Linked DNA regions of Homo sapiens: region 2 is linked to region 1. The links are contacts of gene promoters, found by promoter capture Hi-C in blood cells and fetal thymus (Javierre and others, 2016). All regions are on one chromosome and are shown on one strand. Each heading gives the region's core, a stretch centred on a gene start or on the middle of the fragment in contact. The rest is flanking DNA. Distances are from core to core; before and after follow the strand shown. Region 1 holds the start of PCDHA4 (protocadherin alpha 4). Region 2 overlaps PCDHGA1 (protocadherin gamma subfamily A, 1).

What was found. The method cuts DNA at HindIII sites, captures the fragments that hold promoters and counts their contacts. A CHiCAGO score of 5 or more calls a contact.
Region 2: a fragment that was not itself captured here is called in contact with the fragment with the promoter of PCDHA4 in region 1 in 1 of 17 cell types (erythroblasts); the score reaches 5.0 in erythroblasts.

Annotation. Positions count from the first base shown.
Region 1 is chr5:140,804,005-140,809,741 of GRCh38, reverse strand. PCDHA4 (protocadherin alpha 4) reads right to left here and starts at 2,674. Exons shown (of 4, transcript NM_018907.4): 1 at 170-2,674. The coding sequence starts at 2,554. All of the region lies in intron 1 of PCDHA1 (protocadherin alpha 1), which reads right to left. The region is part of intron 1 of PCDHA2 (protocadherin alpha 2); the gene reads right to left. The region is part of intron 1 of PCDHA3 (protocadherin alpha 3); the gene reads right to left. It also overlaps PCDHA@. The HindIII fragment of the contact is 11,768 bases long and covers 1-3,433 here.
Region 2 is chr5:141,462,718-141,468,454 of GRCh38, reverse strand. The region is part of intron 1 of PCDHGA1 (protocadherin gamma subfamily A, 1); the gene reads right to left. The region is part of intron 1 of PCDHGA2 (protocadherin gamma subfamily A, 2); the gene reads right to left. The region is part of intron 1 of PCDHGA3 (protocadherin gamma subfamily A, 3); the gene reads right to left. All of the region lies in intron 1 of PCDHGB1 (protocadherin gamma subfamily B, 1), which reads right to left. It also overlaps PCDHGA4, PCDHGB2, PCDHGA5, PCDHGB3, PCDHGA6 and PCDHGA7, and 10 more genes. Among named protein-coding and RNA genes, the nearest start is that of PCDHGC3, 10 kb to the left of the region's middle. The HindIII fragment of the contact is 1,131 bases long and covers 1,773-2,903 here.

The sequences.
Region 1 (5,737 bases), core at 1,425-3,924:
TATATATTGCTCTGATGTCCTATAATTCCAAAAGACTTTAGTTAAAATGGATATGTAAAAAGAGGTAAAATTTTAACCCAGGGAAATTTGACTCTTAGAAATAAATTTACGAAGAAGTTGATAGAGAAAAACAATACGAAAATTAAACAAAAGGATGTTATACACTAACCTTTGCAAAGGATTCCTCAGTTGTCTGCAGCTGATCTTCTCTGTCCCTAGAGTCAGGTAAACTGGGGCTGAAGGCCATGAGGTCGGTCTTGGGTGGGCCCTCACCAGAGCACACCCTCGGCCTCCTCTGCTGCGAGTATGACCAGCTCCCCACCGCACTGGAGCACACCAGCGTGGGCTTGCCCGGAGCGCACGCGCCCTCGGTGGGCAGCGCAGAGCACCGCAGCGCGGTGTACAGCAGCAGCGTGAGCACCAAAAGGCTGGACACCGCGCAGATGGCAATGATCAGGTATACGTTGACATCCACCAGCGCAGCATCGGGACCCACAGCGCCCACCAACGCCCGTGAGGAGGCCTTTGGCGCCTGTCCACTCTCCACAAGTGACACCAGCACAGTGGCCGTGGCCGTCAGCGCGGGCTCGCCGTGGTCCTTCACCAGTACCAGTAGGCGGTGGCGCGGAGCGTCCGTTTCGTCCAGGGCACGCGTTGTGCTGATCTCGCCAGTGTACAGCCCCACGCGGAACGGGATGCGCGCGCCACCAGTCCCCGGCTGCAGCTCGTACGAAAGCCACGCGTTGTAGCCCGAGTCAGCATCCACCGCGCGCACCTTTGCCACCACGTGGCCCACACCCACCGACCATGGCACCAGCTCGCTCACTGCGCCACCAGTGCCACCCGCCCGAGGCGCTAGCAGTGCTGGCGCGTTGTCGTTTTCGTCCAGCACGAACACCTGCAGCGTCACGTTGCTGCCCAGAGGTGGCACGCCGGCATCGCGAGCGGTCACCTGAAACTGCAGCAGCTCTAGCTCCTCGTGGTCCAGCGGCTGCAGCGCGTACACCTTGCCGCTCTCCGCATGCACCGAAACGTAGCTCGACAGCGCGCGCTCCCCTACCCGCCGCTCTACCAGCGAGTAGGACACCAGCGCGTTCTCCTGCGCGTCCGCGTCCCACGCAGACACAGTGAAGATGTGGCAGCCCGGCGGGTTGTTCTCCTTCACGAACACTGTGTACTCGGGCTGCGCGAACGCCGGAGCGTTGTCGTTCACATCAGCCACCTCCACAGAAACACTGGCCGTGGCCCACAGCGAAGGCGAGCCCCCGTCTCGCGCGGTCACCACCAGCTCATAGGCTGACACGCTCTCGCGGTCCAGGGCACTGTCCAGCACCAACGAGTAGTAATTCTTGAAGGTGGACACCAGCTTGAAGGGGACGTGGGACGTCAAGGAGCAGGTGACCAGCCCATTGACACCCATGTCTTTGTCGGACACGCTGATCAGGGCGATGACTGTACCCAGTGGAGCGTCCTCTCTAATTGGAAGTGATAAAGACTTGAATTCCAAATCTGGGACATTATCGTTGTTGTCTTCTACTTCCACAATAACTCTACAATGGCCAGAAAGTGGGAGCTGTCCCTTATCAATGCCCTCTACAATAATTTCATAGGATTTGCTTTCTTCAAAGTCAATATATCCCTTTACAATAATTTGTCCAGTAATTGGATCTATGTGAAACTTGGATTTCACATTTGGCGAAATATCATTTGAGAATGAATAAACAATGTCCCCATTCAATCCTTCGTCTAAATCTGAGGCGTTAAGTTTAATTACCAATGTTCCATTAGGAACATTTTCTAGTAATCTCACCTTATAAATGGTTCTGTCAAAAGCTGGGGCATTGTCATTGGCATCCAGTACTGTGATGAGTAACTGAACGGTGCCAGTCAACTCGGGTTTGCCTCCATCAGTGGCTGTGAGCACTAAAAAAATCTCCGGAGCTTCTTCTCTGTCTAAAGATTTCCGTAATATAAGCCCAAGACCTTTTACCAGCTCGTCATCAGGTGGTTTTTCCAGAGAAAAGTATTCATTTGGGCTCAGTCTGTAAGTGAGCAGGGCGTTCTCCCCGATATCTGCATCCGAGGCGCCCTCTAGTGGAAACCGAGAGTCAAGCGGCCTGGATTCCGCGATGGACAGGTTCTTTTGTGTTGCTGGGAACACCGGCGGGTTATCGTTAATGTCCCTCACCTCCACGTCCACATGGAAAACCTGCAGCGGCCTGTCTACGATCACCTCCAGGTGGATGCTGCACTCCGCGCTCCGCCGGCACAGCTCCTCCCGGTCGATCCGAGAATTCACAAACAAAATGCCATTCTGCAGATTTACCTCCAGAAGGCCTCCGCGGCCCTTGGACGCCACCCGGAACAGGCGCGGCACCAGCTCCGCCAGCTCCAGTCCCAGGTCCTGCGCGATGCGGCCCACGAAGGTGCCGTGTTTGGCCTCCTCGGAGACCGAGTAGTGGAGCTGACCGTTCCCTGCCTCCCAGGCTGCGAGGAGAAGAAGTAAGAGCAGCAGACGCCGGGATTCCTGGCCGCTTCCCCAGGAAAACTCCATCTTTAGTGCACAGTATTTTGTTCTGATTAAATATCGTTTCTCAAAGTCAAGGGAAATCTTTTAATCGGTCAGTCAAGTGCAGCTGCATCCTCCATATTTCAGACTCCAAAGAGTGTATATGGTTCCTTCCAGTAAGAATAGAAGGAATTTTCCCTTCTTCCTCCTTCTCTCATGTATTTTGTGGTAAAGAGCGACATCATGTGGCTCCAAACCGTAAGTAGCAATTGTGGAAACCCCCACACACTCTACTGTAAACTACTTGGTTTTATTTATTATTTCAGTCGTTTCGGAGAATAGGAATACATTTTGTACTACTGTGGTACACATTGTACCACTGATTGATTGAGTGTGGTCCTTAGTTTCGCCATAGGGGCAACTTTTACTTCAGTAGAAATAATTTTTTCAACACAGGTTTTAAGTATTACAGAGACCTAACTATACACTTTGTAAACATGTAACTGTAAACTGTTGATTAGAAAAATTCATTACAGATTCCTGTGTTCCCAAGAATTCCAGGGTTTTTTTTTATTAATGATAACACCCTCTTCACCCTAGTATTTCTGGTGTTGTTGACTTGAGGGGACTGGTCTCTAGGGAACTTCTGGTGCCAAGAACAAGCTATTGACAGGGAAATTTGCAGATGTTTTATAAAAGGATCAAAGACCATCAGCATTTAATTAGATGTCTTCCTTGAGTCATGTCAGGGCTGAAAGTGCAAGGAAGCAGGAAGTTATAGCAAATAGCTTGCATGGAAAAGCATTCCAAATAATTTTATTCATTGGAACTCATTTGCTCCCATGAGAAACGCTGGTATTCTCATTTTGACTCTTACAGTTTATAAGTACTTGCTTGTTCTCCAGTATGTAATGTGCCTAAGCTTCTATTTTCTCCTATAGTGCTTATATATTTTAGCCAAACTGAATATTTCCTGCTTCCAATAGCTTTTTTTAATAAACAAGCATGTTCATTTTGTCCTGTCTATAAGTAATCCACATCATTTCTAAACTCTTCTAAAGCCAATTTACCCCATTTTATAACCACTTAAAACTTCCCTGACCCATGAAGAATGTCATGATCAAACCAATTGAACAGGTATTTTTTCTTCTTTTACAAACTGCAGCACCAGGGTGGAATCGCGTGGGCCATTTATTACATTAATTTATCTCTTATAAGCATTTGAGTATGTGTGTCCTTTTTTGGAATATATATTTTAAAGGGAATAGTTGTATCTTAATTGTTTAATAGCTCAGAGGGACTTACCTAATATTTCCTAAATATTTACCCTGCAGAAAATGTTTGCTTCCTTCCATTGCCTAATAAAATGCATTAATTTAAGGTGATCGCATATCTAGTTGGGAAAATGTGGTGTTTCAATAGCCTCTATGATTTTCTAAAGATACAAAAAAAGTCTCTAGACATTTCCCCAATTAAGATGTATTTCAAGTTCAATGTTGAAAACTTGGGTTTTAGCTTAATTTTTATTCTAATTCTTGGTAATCATGATCTTTGAATCATCCTGGGTATTAATGGGGAATGAAGACTTCCCAATAAATAAACCACAATACATTTTCTTACATAAAGAAATTTAATATATAAAGACATAATGGTAGCCATTTAAAAACTTTCCTTGCCTCCTATATCCATAAAGTTATTTTCATCCTGTTTGTCTAAACAAAAAATCAATCTAGTGAAAATAGCTTTACGCTCCCTCTCTATTGAAGAACTACACTCACACAAACACACACACACAAAAACCAAAACAACAACAAAAAACCCACCAAATTTCTGAATCAAACAGAAACCAGAGTACTTTCACTATGTGGGGACCCAAACTATATTTTTACAAAATGATCATTGACATCAAGCACATTGGAAAAAAGGAGGAAGAATTCCATTTTCACCCATTTCATTTGTAATATTTTCATTTACCAGGTATTTTAATGTACAGATGGGGAATGCAGCAGAATAGAAAACAATGTTTATTTGGTAGCTATTCAATATTTATTTGGCATAGCATCAGTACATCTGTGAAGTGAAAATTCCAAAGTCTTCAAAATGTCTTTGCCAAGAGTCTTGTTAGACAATAGTTTCAAGAGGCAAGCTGGATTTGAAGATTGAAGTTCCATATCTGGGAAGACAAGTACTTTGGCTGACTCTATTATATTCAAGAAGCTGATAACAGAACTAAATTTTTAAAATACTGACCTGAGATGGACACACTATGGCTACTACTTCATGGACAAGGGAGCAACAAAGGATAGTGCCAAAAAAGGAAATAAAGAAAATGGAAGTGAGGGGAAGGAGAGGAGTCAAGAAAAATATCTATTTTACGTGTTAGACCTCCCACACTGTCAATGAGTATTAACCAGGTTTCAGTTGGTTACTATTTCTCTCCAGTGGTAGGGAAACTTAAATGGGAGTCCAACTAATTGCTAGAGGAGATAACCAAATATGTAGGGGTAGTGATTAGAAAAAAGTCTACCTTCAATTTCATTTGGTTCTGGTTATTTGGAGTTTTCTACTTATTGCATGGCACACATTAATAGGCAGGATGCTATTCAGAGAAGTTAACCAGTAATAACATTATAACATTGGCTTATCAAACTTATTTCATATTAGCATCCTTAGTATGGTATGCAAAAGACACTAATGAATAAAAAGTTTTGCTAGTAGGGATAGTTTTAAAATTAGATACCATAATTATTTTCAAGATATTGTTCAGATTGAAAATTATTTTTAACAAGATTTAAAACATTCTTTTAAAATGAATATATAAATATACTATACAACTATTAAATTTTCACTTCATATTGATATTTTAGTTATTAGTAATAAATTTTAACATATAATACAGTAGTATTATTAAAGTAGTATTAAATAAAGTAGTGATAAACTAAAGATGAACAAAGATGCAATTCTAAATGCAATTGTTATTCTCGATTTTTTTCCCAACTGGGAAATCAAGAAACAATAAACGGTATTGCCAAATTAGAGCACAAGGCCTAAAATGAATCATATTCAAGTAAAAAATAAGGATTGAGACTCCAAACAAGTGAATAAGAGAATAAAAGAGGTTCCATAAAAGACAACAGGTGTAATGATCTAATTTTTGAAACTGAAGGTGGAAAAGCATAATCAATAGGGAGTTATAAGCATTAGGTGAACTCATAAAATGAGCAAGTA
Region 2 (5,737 bases), core at 1,089-3,588, 660 kb before region 1:
CTTTAATTTTGCACCCACATTTTGCTATTACCTTGCTATCTAACTTATTATTAGTTCTCACCAAATGGGTAGCCTTGTATGGCTGAGTTATTTCTTTTTTCTTTCTTTTTTTTTTTTTTTTTTTGAGATGGAGTTTACCGTTGCTCTTGTTGCCCAGGCTGGGGTGCAATGGCGTGGTCTCGGCTCACCACAACCTCTGCCTCCCAGGTTCAGGCAATTCTCCTACCTCATCCTCCCAAGTAGCTGGAATTACAGGCACCCGCCACCATGCCCAGCAAATTTTTCTATTTTTAGCAGAGACAGGGTTTCACCATGTTGGCCAGGCTGGTCTCAAACTCCTAACCTCAGGTGATCTGCCTGCCTCAACCTCCCAAAGTGCTGGGATTACAGGTGTGAGCCACTGTGCCCGGCTTAGTTTTCTAAATGAAGTATTTTACTTCAACATATAACAGAGGAAGAAAGAATTGTGGTTTTCTGATCATTAAAATTTTCTGGCAGCCGGGTGTGGTGGCTCATGCTTGTAATCCTAGCATTTTGGGAGGCTGAGGTGGGCGGATTTCTTGAGCTCAGGAGTTTGAGACCAGCCTGGGCAACATGGTGAAATCTCATTCTACAAAAAAATATAAAAATCAGCCTGGTGTGGTGGCATGTGCCTGTAGTCCCAGCTACTTGAGAGGCTGAGGTGCGGGCACTTGAGCATGTGAGGCGGAGGTTGCAGCGAGCTGGGATTGTGCCACTACACTCCAGCCTGGGCAACAGAGCCAGACCCTGTCTAAAAAAAATAAAAATCTTCTGGCACTATAGAAGTTTGGTACATGATAAAGATGCTATCTCAAATCACTGGGACAAAGATGAAGTGCTTAATAAATGGCATTGGGACAACTGGATAGCCATTTGGGAAAAAAGATATAATCAGATCCATATCTCAGCACACAAAAGAATAAACTCCAATTAGATCAGGGATCTAAATGTGGAAACCAAAAACCATGCAAGTACTAGCACTGGAAGAAAAAAGTAATGAATGTTTCTATAACCTAGGTGTGGGGAAAGGCTTTCTAACTATGACTTAAAACCTAAATGCAATATAAGAAAACGTTGATTTGGCCGGGGGCAGTGGCTTACGTCTCTAATCCCAGCACTGTGGGAGGCCGAGGTGAGTGGATCACTTGAGGTCAAGAGTTCGAGACCAGCCTGGCCAACATGGTGAAACCCCATCTCTACTAAAAATACAAAAATTAGCCAGGCATGGTGGCATGTGCCTGTAATCCCAGCTACTTGGGAGGCTGAGAGATGAGAATCACTTGAACCTGGGAGGCAGAGGTTGCAGTGAGCTGAGATTGCACCATTGTACTCCAGCCTGTGTGACAGAGTGAGACTTGGTCTAAAAAAAAAAAAAAAAGAAAACATTGATTCATTACACAAAAAACAAAAACAAAGGGAAAAAAATTGCATTGCAAAAAAATGCCAAAAGGTAAATGATGAGCTGTGAGAAAATATTTGCAGTCTGTTTACTGGACAAAGGACTAATATTCCTAATACAAGGAGTTTTCAAAAACTTCATGGAAAATGCATATTATGAAAAAAATGTGTGGATTTCAAAATATTTCTTGCACCAAAATAAACCCATACTAACTTGTTATACCATGTCTGAATAGGATCTAGTTTGAGGCACTAAGAAGAATAAGATAACAGTTTGAAAAGAGCCCCTATCAGAGTAACATGAATTCTGCTAAAATGGAAACAAGAACAGACATCAAATTTATGATGAAGCTTGAGTGGAAGAACGGTGAAATCACTGATGTTTTGTGAAAAGTTTATGGAGACAATGCTCCAAAGAAAACGGCAGTTTACAAGTAGCTAGCTTGTTTTAAGAAGGGATGAGACAATGTTGAAGATGAAGCCCACAGCAAAAGACCATCTACATCAATTTGGGAGGAAAAAAAATGATCTTGTCTGTGCTCTAATTAAAGAAGACCTACAATTAACAGCAGAAACAATAGCCAACACCATAGACATCTCGGTTCAGCTTACACAATTCTGACTGAAAAATTAAAGTTGAGCAAACTTTCCATTAGATGGGTGCCAAAACCATTACATCTAGATTAGCTGCAAAAAAATTATCCAGGCATGGTAGCATGTGCCTGTAGTCCCAGCTACTTGGGAGCCTGAGGTGGGAAGATTGCTTGAGCTCACGAGGCCAAGGCTGCATTGAGCCATGATGGTGCCACTGCACTCCAGCCTGGGTAACAGAGCAAGGCTGTGTCTGAAAAAAAATAAAAATAAAATAGATCAGCTGCAGTTTAAGACCAGAGTTTTCACTTGATTTTTTTTTTGAGCTGGAGTCTCACTCTGTTGCCCAGGCTGGAGTGCAGTGGCATGATATCAGCTCACTGCAAGCTCCGTCTCCTGGGTTCATGCCGTTCTCCTGCCTCACCCTCCCGAGTAGCTGGGACTACAGGTGCCTGCCACCATGCCCGGCTAATTTTTTGTATTTTTAGTAGAGATGGGGTTTCACCATGTTAGCCAGGATGGACTCGAAATCCTGACCTCGTGATTTGCCCGCCTCGGCCTCCCAAAGTGCTGGGATTACAGGCATGAGCCACTGGGCCCAGCCTCAGTTGAAATTTTAAACAAATGTGATCAAGATCCTGAAGGGTTTCTTAAAAAAAAAAAAACTGTAACAAGAGATGAAACATGACTTTACCAGTCTGATCCTGAAAACAAAGCACAAGAGGTGGAAGTGGTGGCATTTGACCAATGCAAAAGCAGACTGGTCAAGAGCAAATGTCATGGCAAGCGCTTTTTTGGGATGTTCAAAGCATTTTGCTGGTTGACTTCCTGGAGGGCCAAAGAGTGATAAGATCTGATTATTATGAGAGTGTTTTGAGAAAGTTACCAAAGCTTCAGCAGAAAAAATGCCTGGGAAAACTTCCCCAGAATCCTTCCTGACCACGACAATGCTCCCGCTCATTCCTCTCATGAAGCAAGGGCAATTTGGTGAGAGTTTTCTTGGGTAATCATTAAGTGCCCACCTTTCAGTGCTGATTTGGCTTCTTCTGACTTGTTTTTGTTCCTAATCTTACAACTTTAAAGGGCACCCATTTTTTCTTCAGTAACCAATATAAAAAATACTGCATTGACATGGCTAAATTCCCAGGACTCTCAGTTCTTTAGGGGTGAACTAAATGGCTAGTATCATTGCTTACAAAAGTGCCTTGAACTTGATGGAGCTCATGTTGAAAAATAAAGCTTATATTTTTATTTTTATCTTTTAATTAAATTTCTTCATAAACATTTAGAGTCCCTTCATATATCCCCTAAACTTTTTACAAATTTAGGCTAAAACACTTAAAAAAAAAACTACTAGAAAAATGAAAATAAGACATGAACAGACAATTCAAAAAAATATATAGGGTCATTTGTGGTGGTTCATGGCTGTAATCTTAGCACTTTGGGAGGCTGAGGTGGGAGGATCACTTGAAGCCAGTAGTTCAAGACAAGCCTGGGCAACATAGTGAGACCTCACATCTCTACAAAAAAATAAAAAAATTAGCTGGACATGGTGGCATCCATCTGTAGTCCTAGCTACTTGGGAGGCTAAGGTAGGAGGATTGCTTGAGCCCAGGAGTGCGAGGCTACAGTGAGCTATGACTGCATCACTGCAATTTGGCCTGGGCAACAGAACAAGATTCCTGTCTCTAAAAAAACAAAAAGATATAAACTGGCTTTTAAACATATGAAAAACTATTTAACCTCATTCATAATAAGAGAAATTTTAATTAAAATTATTTGGAGATATCTTTTTACCCATCAGGTTGGCAACAATTAAAAAGCTTGACAATATACTCTGCAAAGGAGACTATGGGACAATGGACATTCTCATCTATTTGTAGGAATGCAAGATGGGGAATAGCTATATTTAACAAAACTACATATGCCTTTACCTTATGATGCAGCAATCACACTATTAGGAATTTATTATACGTACATACTTCAAAAATAACAACAACAACAACAAACATATATATCTATATATATAGATATATATATATCTCAGGTTCTTCATTAGCATTTTTTATATTGCAAAAATATTGGATGGAAACTACCTAAATGACAAGTCATAGATGGGTTGAACAGATAATGATATGTGCACATACAATGGAGTTTTTTTTTTTGCTTTTTTTTTTTTTTAGACGGAGTCTCGCTCTGTAGCCCAGGCTGGAGTGCAGTGGCGCAATCTCAGCTCACTGCAATCTCCGCCTCCTGAAATCAAGCAATTCTCCTGCCTCAGCCTTCCAAGTAGCTGGGACTACAGGCGCCCACCACCACACCCAGCTAATTTTTGTATTTTTAGTAGAGACGGAGTTTCACCATGTTGGCCAGGCTGGCCTTGAACTCCTGACCTCAGGTGATCCACCCGCCTTGGCCTCCCAAAGTGTGGGATTACAAGCATGAGCCACTGCACCTGGTTTTTACAATGGAGTTTTATGAAGCTATTTTAAAAATGAAGATTTCTATAAATTTATATAGAATGATTTCCAGGATATATTATTAGTACAAAAAGCAAGGTGAAAACTTTTCCTTTCAGTCATGTGAAACCAGATATACCACTATAACAACTGGGAAGTGGATCAAAATGTGTGATAAAAGCTTTTAGACATTTGTTCAAAAGACAGTGCAGGATTCTAACCCATAAGAGAAGAGAAGCAGGCCGGGCGCGGTGGCTCATGCCTGTAATCCCAGCACTTTTGGAGGCCGAGGTGAGCAGATCACGAGGTCATCCAGACCATCCTGGCTAACACGGTGAAACCCCGTCTCTACTAAACAAAATACAAAAAATTAGCCGGGCATGGTGGCAGGCACCTGTAGTCCCAGCTACTCGGGAGGCTGAGGCAGGAGAATGGCATGAACCCGGGAGCCGGAGTTTCTAGTAAGCCGAGATCACGCCACGTCACTCCAGCCTGGGTGACAGAGCGAGACTCCATCTCAAAAAAAAAAAAAAAAAAAAAAAAAAAAGGAGAAGGAAATGAGGATCCGCAAACTAGGATCTCCATTTTTTTTGCCTGGAGACAACTTTCAGACTGTGGGGCAGGAAAGGGGAAATCCAAGAATAACACCATGGTTTTGCTGAGTTGAGGAATAGATATTAGAGTTTGGGGAGATTAGGAGATTGAGGCAGCCAGAATTTATGGGATAGAGTACTAAAGAGAATGGAGCTACACAAAGAACTCCAGGAATATTAATATGGATCCCCAAGTCTTTGGCTAAATAATAATCTGAGCATACATAGAGTGCACTGACACTTTTCTGCAGCTGGGCGAAGAACTGCCAGGGAGCTATTAGCTGAATTCTTGATGGTCACATAGGGCTGGAAAATGTTTGAATTTCATTTAGCCATAATAAAGAGACCCTGCTGAACACTCAGATTAATCAAAAAAGTCAGAATTAAGTGGTAGGTCTAAATTAGCCCAAGGCAAAAGTTACTACAGACCTGTCCTAACAAAGCTTAAAAACAAGCCTTGAAAAGATCAACCTGATCTGCAAAAAACATAATAGCCTTCCAAAACAAACTGCAATAGTTCTTAAAGAAAGACAAAATCCAAACACTCAAAAATATAACATTTACAATGTCTGCTGTCCAATAAAAACATTATTAGACATGCAAATAAGCAACAAATTATGACCCCAAGCCAGGAAGAAAATCATCATAGGAATTACAGAGGTGACAAAATTAGCA